Regions from separate parts of the Homo sapiens genome. Here region 2 is linked to region 1. Evidence: promoter capture Hi-C in human tissues and cell types (Jung and others, 2019). All regions are on one chromosome and are shown on one strand. The core of a region is centred on a gene start or on the middle of the fragment in contact, and the rest is flanking DNA. Distances in the headings are between cores, read along the strand shown.

Region 1 (4,012 bases), core at 991-3,490:
GAACCAAGAAGGAGGGAGGCTGGGGCGGTGGGAAGAGCCAAGGCCACCAGCTCTTCTCTGAGACGCATCCTGAGGCTGCCGGCCCCAGCCTTTAAACCTTCTTACCCATTGCTATGGAATTTTTAAAATTCCAAATAAACTGGGGGAAAAGTTTAAAAGTCATATTTATAGCAATAAAAGTGAAAGGCTGGATTTAAGAAAGCTATCCGGCTGGGCGCGGTGGCTCACGCCTGTAATCCCAGCATTGTGGGAGGCCGAGGCGGGTGGATCACGAGGTCAGGAGATCAAGACCATCGTGGCTAACACGGTGAAACCCCGTCTCTACTAAAAATACAAAAAAATTTAGCCAGGCGTGGTGGCGGGCGCCTGCAGTCCCAGCTACTGGGGAGGCTGAGGCAGGAGAATGGCGTGAACCCGGGAGGCGGAGGTTGCGGTGAGCCGAGATCGCGCCACTGCACTCCAGCCTGGGCGACAGAGCAAGACTCTGTCTCAAAAAAAAAAAAACTATCCACACTTGCCTGTGGGTGTGAGGAGAGACTCTAAAAAGAGAGGCCCTTGAGCTGGGCGCAGTGGCTCACGCCTGTAATCCCAGCACTTTGGGAGGCCAAGGCTGGTAGATCACCTGAGGTCAGGAGTTTGAGACCAGCCTGGCCAACATGGTGAAACCCTGTCTCTACTAAAAATACAAAAATTAGCCGGGTGTGGTGGTGGGCACCTGTAATCCCAGCTATTTGGGAGGCTGAGGCAGGAGAATCACTTTAACCCGGGAGATGGAGTTTGCGGTGAGCTGAGATCATGCCATTGTACTCCAGCCTGGGCGACAGAGTGAAACTCCATCTCAAAAAAATAAAATAAAATAAAATACAAATACAAATACAAAAAATTAGCCGGGTATGGTGGCAGGCGCCTGTAATCCCAGCTACTTGGGAGGCTGAGGCAGGAAAATCGCTTTAACCCGAGAGGCAGAGGTTACAGTGAGCCGAGACTGCGCCACTGCACTCCAGCCTGGGCGACAAGAGTGAAACTCCGTTCCCTCCTCCCCATCCCCCAAGAAAAGAGGTCCTCGAGGCAGCAGAGAAATCTCCTGTCCACATCTGCAGCTTCACTCAGCCCGTGGGGATCAAGCCTGGGCCTGCTTCCCCAAGGTGGGCGGCAGCCCCTCTGCCCTTGCAGCGATCTCTGTGCCAGGGCGAGCTCGCAGGGACCTCTGTGCCAGGGTGAGAGGCTCTCTCCCACCACCACAGGTGGAGAAACTGCAGAGGTCAAGAGCATACAACTGGGGTCGGCCTTCATGCCCATGGTCAGACTGTGGGTGACTTCCTCAGGCAGAGGCCGTGATGACTTCTGGTTTCTATGCCACCCAAACATACCAGCATGTGGCAAGCCCTCAGCAATTCACACAAGCCTCTAACAGGGGAATTGGATGGTCGCCCTCCTCTATCTCCCTGGCTTCCTCCTGTCTTGGGAATAAAATTCAGTTTCCCCGAATGGCCTCCCAGTCCCTGCAGCCCCCGCCCCTTCCCACTTCTCTCCTCTCCTCCAGGGTGTACCCTCCTCTCCTCCAGGCTGTACCCTCCTCTCCTCCAGGGCGTACCCTCCTCTCCTCCAGGGCGTATCCTCCTCTCCTCCAGGCTGTACCCTCCTCTCCTCCAGGCTGTACCCTCCTCTCCTCCAGGCTGTACCCTCCTCTCCTCCAGGCTGTACCCTCCTCTCCTCCAGGCTGTACCCTCCTCTCCTCCAGGGTGTACCCTCCTCTCCTCCAGGCTGTACCCTCCTCTCCTCCAGGGTGTACCCTCCTCTCCTCCAGGGTGTACCCTCCTCTCCTGAATCACCCCTCCTCAACCTCCAGGCTTCCACCTGAACCGCAGAGAGGCCCTCCCACCCAGCAGGAGCCACATCTCCGCTGCTGTTCTAGCTCCTGGCGCCCTGCTTTCTTGGGGGCCCGACCACCCCCTGGAATTATACGGGTTACACAGGTATGCGTGTGATGACTTGTTTCCTCTGCACCCAGCACGGCACCTTCGTCAATGTTTACTGAATGTTTAGGTTACAAGAAAGAGGGGATTAACGATCCACATGTAGGCCTGGAGCGGTGGCTCACGCCTATAATCCCAGCAATGTGGGAGCCCGAGGTGGGTGGATCGACTGAGCCCAGGAGTTCAAGACCAGCCTGGGCAACATGGTGAAACCCCTATCTCTACAAAACATTTAAAAATTAACTGGGTATGGTGGCTTACACCTGTAGTCCCAGCACTTTGGGAGGCTGAGGCTGGTGGATCACTTGAGCCCAGGAGTTTTGAGACCAGCCTGAGCAACGTGATGAAACCCTCATCTCTACAAAAAATTTGACCGGGCGTGGTGGCTCACACCTGTAATCCCAGTGCTTTGGGAGGCCAAGGCGGGTGGATCACCTGAGGTCAGGAGTTCGAGACCAGCCAGGCCAACATGGTAAAACCACATCTCTACTAAAAAATACAAAAATTAGCCGGGCGTGGTGGTGGGCACCTGTAATCCCAAAAACAAAAACAAAAAACTAACTGGGTTTGATGGCTCATGCTTGCAGGCCCAGCACTTTGGAAGGCTGAGGCAGGAGGATCGCTTGAGCCCAGGAGTTTGAGACCAGCCTAGGCAACATGGCGAGACCCTGTCTCTACAAAAAATACAAAAATTAGCTGAGTATGGTGGCGCACACTTGTAGTCCCAGCTACTGCTACTCGGGAGGCTGAGGCGGGAGGATTGCTTGAGCCCAGGAGTCAAGGCCGCAGTGAGCTGTGATTGCAACACTACATTCCAGACTGGGCAACAGAGCGAGACCCTGTCTCAAATAAAAAAAAACCATCCACAGGTAGCCGCAGCCCCCCAGGCTGACCCTGACCCTGTTGAAGCGGGGGCCACTGGACAACAGAGAAAACGAAGAAAGAGCTCAGGAGTGGGCCGTCACGTTGCCATCCCAGAGGCCAAGAGGACACAGCTCCAGGAAGCCCCGTGCTTCTCGGGCTGAGAACCCAACTGGTCTCCTGCCCTCACCAGGGGGACGAGGGAGGCATCCAGCAGCCAACACCTGGAGGACGTTGTGCAAAACCCATTGCCAACTTCCCGCACCCAGGTCCCCAAACCCAGCCTGCCACGTCTCCCAGCAGGCAAGGAAGAACAAACTGCGGGGCAGCCGAGAAATGAGCTGTTTCCTTCCTTCTGCCACCTCACCAGGCTGGAACCCAACACGGTGTCTGTGGCGAGATTCTGGCTGGAGTCGTAAGAAAGAGTTCTAAGAACCTTTCAACAGGTTCAGGCAAATTTTCTTTAGAGAACAAACTAAAGCATCGTCCTAGAGTGACACGAAGCTGACAAATTTGCATCTCAATCAGCCGGACACTGCTCAGGCTTTCACAAGTCTAATTCAATAAATTCAAAAATGGCCTATCTGCTTCTCTGCAATTCAGCCATGCACCAAGTTTGAAAATGTTAGACTGAAGCAGAAACCTTCACCCTAACTTCGCCAGGCACTCCCAGACGAGCCAAATGCGGGGATTTCTGGCCTGAAAGAAAACTGGTGATGCAGACTCCAAGAATCAAGGAGCAGTGTGACCAGAGAGATAAGCTGTGTGGAATCAGCAGCCTTCCCGCCCAGAACGTGGGCTCAGCATGTTTGCCAGATAATAAGAAAAACCAAAATTGGAGGCAGGAGCAAAAGTTCGGGATAAGAAGTTGATGTTCAACCCACAATCCTGACCCTTCACCTTCACTTTGGTTTAGTGGAGTTACCTGTCAAGTCTGCCCAGGGCTTAAAACACCAACTCAGCACTGCGCTGGCACAATCTCTGGGACTCCTCCCACTTAGACAGAGGAGGAAGCTGAGGTTGAGGCAGGAATGAAAGGACCAGACCCAATTCTGCCAAAACCATACAATCAATTAAATCCGTGGACATTCTATTAAAAAAAAACAAAAAACAAAAAACAAACAAAAAACACCTAGAATCTGACCTTCCGACATCATGGTGGGTTAAAAAAAAAA
Region 2 (4,012 bases), core at 1,513-4,012, 86 kb after region 1:
TCCGAGGAAGGGGAAGGGATGTGAGTTAGCTGGAAGAGAAACTGAGATTCTGATGAGCAAGTCTGGCCCTCACCCTGATGGGGGACTGTGCATGGAAGACCCTCATCTCCTTGTCCTGGCCCCACCTCCCCCAGCGAGGGGCCCATGGCTTCTCTCTAGTCTTTCAGGCTGAGAGTCGAACTGTTGCTGGTGACAGGTCCATTGTCACGACGTGTCCTGGTCCCCCTGGTTTTCTCATGGCCAGGGCTGGGTGGATGGGGTCGAGACTGTAGGACATCATTGACCAGAATACGGATCCCCAATATGATGCTCATGATGCCCACAGTGACCAGCCCAATTCCACCCAGGGTGACCAGAGCAAGAGGAACCTGGTGGTGCTGCCGGAACAGCCACAGACTCATCCACCCCAGCGGGACCAGGCGGAAGAGGGCCAAGGTGGCCAAGGAGGCCCAGCTGGTCACGCTGAAGGCCAGGGATGGGGCCTGGCGAGAAAGCAACAGCAGCTTCCGCAGGTGCAAGCAGGCAGAGTTCAGTTCCAGGAGCAGAGACACCATGGAGAAGCCCACGTAGTGGCCAGACAGAACAGCGGTGCTGAGGCAGCTCACCACCTGGGAGCCAGGGTCACAGGTCAGAGGAACCCCATGACCTGCCAGCCATCATGTCCCAATAACCCAGGCCTGAAGAAAGAGGCTTCCACGCAGTCTGTGGGGCTCCCCAAACACCTGACCTTTATGCTTTTACCTTTATCCTGGGGCCCTGAGCAGCCTTGAAACAACCCTTCCATAGATGGAACCAGGCTTGGCCCAGGGAGGGGCTGTCTCACCCCCTAATACCCCCTTAACCTCCCATTCCTGGGCTTGCTTGCTTTTTTTTTTTTTTTTTTTTTTTTTCGAGACAGACTCTCACTCTGCCACCAGGCTGGAGTGCAGTGGTGTGATCTTGGCTCACTGCAACCTCTGCCTCCTGGGTTCAAGCAATTCTCCTGCCTCAGCTTCCAGAGTAGCTGGGACTACCGGTGCGCGCCACCACACCCAGGTAATTTTTGTATTTTTAGTAGAGACGGGGTTTCACTGTTAGTCAGGATGGTCTCGATCTCCTGACCTCGTGATCCACCCGCCTCGGCCTCCCAGTGTGCTGGGATTATAGGCATAAGCCACCGTGCCTGGCCTAGGGCTTTCATGCCCCATACCCACACCCTATACCAGGACACCCCCTTCTCAGAAAAGCTCCATATTCCACATTTCTGTGATCAGCTGGACACCTGTGGGGGCACCCAAACTCCTTAGGCTCACATGGTGGGTGCCCTGGCATGGTGGGTGCCCTTGTATGGTGAGTGCCCTGGCATGGTAGGTGCCCTGGCCTGGTGGGTATCTGGACTCCCCAGCTGTGGCCAGCAGCCACCTCCTCCCCCTAACTCAGCCTAAGACTGGGAGCCAAGCACCAGCTGGGGGCAGAGACTGTGGGAAATTATAGGACAGCAAAATGAAGAGAGGGCCGGGGGCGGTGGCTCATGCTTGTAATCCCAGCACTTTGGAAGGCTGAAGTGGGCGGATCACCTGAGGTCAGAAGTTCGAGACCAGCCTGGCCAACATGGAGAAACCCCGTCTTTACTAAAAATACAAAAAATTACTTGGGCGTGGTGGCGGGTGCCTGTAATCCCAGCTACGTGGGAGGCTGAGGCAGGAGAATTGCTTGAACCCAGGAGGCGAAGGTTGCAGTGAACAGAGGCCGAACCACTGGACCCCAGCCTGGGTGACAGAGTGAGACTCCGTCTCAAAAAAAAAAAAAAAAAAAAAAAAAAAGAATGAGGAGAGACTGGGAACCTCGGGCTGGACAGGGCTCCCCTCCTCCCTTCCTGTCTGGCTTCTGCCCTCAGAGTCTCACCACCAAATGATGACAGAGAAGATCCCAGGTCTTGCCCAAGGTCTGGTTCCACAGCAGGTCAGCTCCGTCTGCCAGGAAGTAACCTGTGGGCATGGGGGTAGGGGTTAGGCTGCTCCAGAGCCCGGGCAGCTTAGAGAGGATTTCCAGCCCCCCCGCCCCGCCCCTCTCCCAGTTCTTAGTTTTCCCTTGGTAAAGCCTTCAGGAACGTTTAACCCCCATGGGGGCGGGGAATGGACCTGGAAGGACAGCAGAACCTGCCCCCCGCCCCATCCCCACCACCGGCCCAGCCTTCCCTGCAGACTCACCCACAGACACAGCCACCAGCACCAGAGCCCAGCGCGGGTGGCCATGGATGGGGTCGGCGGCCATCTGAGGGTACAGTGACAGGCTGGGGGCATGGGGTGGGGACATGGGGGGGGGCATGGTCAGCCTCTCGAGGCCCCGGCCGCAGTCTCCCTGTGCGCACCCCCACCCCAGTCTCAGCTCTGGAGACGCCCGGCGGGTCTCCCGGCCTCAGCCTCCCACCCCTCGCCCTCGCCCCGTGCGCCTCGAGCCCCCAAGCCCGCACCCGAGCAGCGCCCCGGTCCCCGAGAGCAGGCTGTGCGCCAGGGAGACGCAGAGGTTCCACCACTGCCAGCGGTCCCGAGCGGCCGATTCCGGCGTGGGCAGCCGCCGCAACCCCCAGTGCAGCCCCCGGAACGCGAGGAAGGAGGCGCCGGCCACCAGGAGCCCCGTGGGCGCCATGGCCTGGCGGTTGGGGGGTTGCGGGGAGTCCGGGTCGGTCCCCTCGGCGCCCGCGCTCTCGGCCGGGACTGGGAACCCGTTTCCCGGCAGGGCTGGGGCCCCGGCTCCCCTCCCCGCCGCGCCTTTGGGATCAGCAGGAACTTTTCCCCGTTCGTCCACGCCCAGTCCCTCGCCTGGGCGGTGATTGGAGCAGCCGCGGGGCCGCCGCCCCCGGAGCCTTGGCCACCGATTGCGTCTTGCTCCAGCCGGGGGAGCGGTTCGGGGGCTCCGGGCAGTAGACCATGCCCTGGAGCTCGGGGGGCCTCCGGGATGTTCGCCAATAGGGGTCCTCCCCAGCTCCAAGCGTCCTGAAGCGCTGGAGTTGCAGACCTGGGTCTCCAGTCTAACCTCAACTGACACTCCCGGGCCCCACCCACGAACCTTGACCTCTTCCCGGCTCCCGCGACTTTCACCTGCTGAGCGTCATCACCACCCACCGCCACACCCTGCAAGGCAGAGGCTAGCGCAGCCCACTCGTACCTGCCCGAGCCTGGCCGCCGCCCCCACTTCCCTCCCCGCGTCCGTGGTGGGGACGGGGTGCCCCACTTTCTTGGAGCCACCCCTTCGGCCTCCTGAGGTTTCCACGCCTTTACCATATCCCGGCAAACCTGTAATTCCAGCAGTTCTGCTCCCCCTCCCCCACAACCCCCAGGAGACCCCATGTTGGAGAAGCGACCCACTGGGCCCCGCCCCGACCCCCAGCATTGTTTTCGGCCCTACGGAGGAGCCTCATTAGGAAGAGGACGCAAAAGGGAATCGCTGGCCCCCAGTCTTGAAAAGCACTTCCTTCCCCAAGGGCTTGGTACCCGTTGGGTGGGTAGAATATCTTCAATCCGAGGGCAAGGAAAGGTAACACAGGGTCCCTTCAAGGCTGGGACAGAGTCAGAAGAGAAAAACAGACCTGTCCTGCTCTTAGTAGCAGGGCGGTTAGGATTCCAGAACCCTCCAGCCTTAAGAGGAAGAGCCTCCCCCAGCCCCTCACCACCTGAAGAGCCCCAGGTTGCACTGCTTTCCTTCCACCTTACTCCACTCCACCTCTTCAGCTGGCAGACAGTCAGCAAGTCAGAGCTGTTTCCTGCAGGCTGAGAGGGAGGATTCCAGCTACTTCAAAGAATTAAGTTCATAAACCAAGAGGTGCCCCAACCAAACCTTCTCACCAAAAAGCTGAGGTCTTCCCTTCATTCTTCTACCCCCACCTCTCCAAAGGTTTAAATAATAACACTGATCTCTTAAATTATATTATATGAAATACAAAATGTGGAAAATTTGGAAATTACAGAAAAACCAAAGATGAAAATTACAGTGACTTTGTTCCACCATACAAAGATAACCACTCAACATTTTT

What was found. Contacts are between HindIII fragments. The study calls those that stand out against the background at their distance.
Region 2: a contact is called between the fragment with the promoter of TLCD2 here and a fragment that was not itself captured in region 1, in 2 of the 25 tissues and cell types used here (dorsolateral prefrontal cortex and hippocampus).

Annotation. Positions count from the first base shown.
Region 1 is chr17:1,622,074-1,626,085 of GRCh38, forward strand. All of the region lies in intron 2 of SLC43A2 (solute carrier family 43 member 2), which reads right to left. Among named protein-coding and RNA genes, the nearest start is that of SLC43A2, 4.8 kb to the right of the region's middle. The HindIII fragment of the contact is 4,391 bases long and covers 46-4,012 here.
Region 2 is chr17:1,707,615-1,711,626 of GRCh38, forward strand. It overlaps TLCD2 (TLC domain containing 2), which reads right to left and starts at 2,763. Exons shown (of 4, transcript NM_001164407.2): 1 at 2,453-2,763; 2 at 2,190-2,272; 3 at 1,885-1,967; 4 at 1-608. The coding sequence starts at 2,628. The coding sequence ends at 156. It overlaps MIR22HG (MIR22 host gene), which reads right to left. Exons shown (of 3, transcript NR_028505.2): 3 at 3,890-4,012. The HindIII fragment of the contact is 13,317 bases long and covers 1-4,012 here.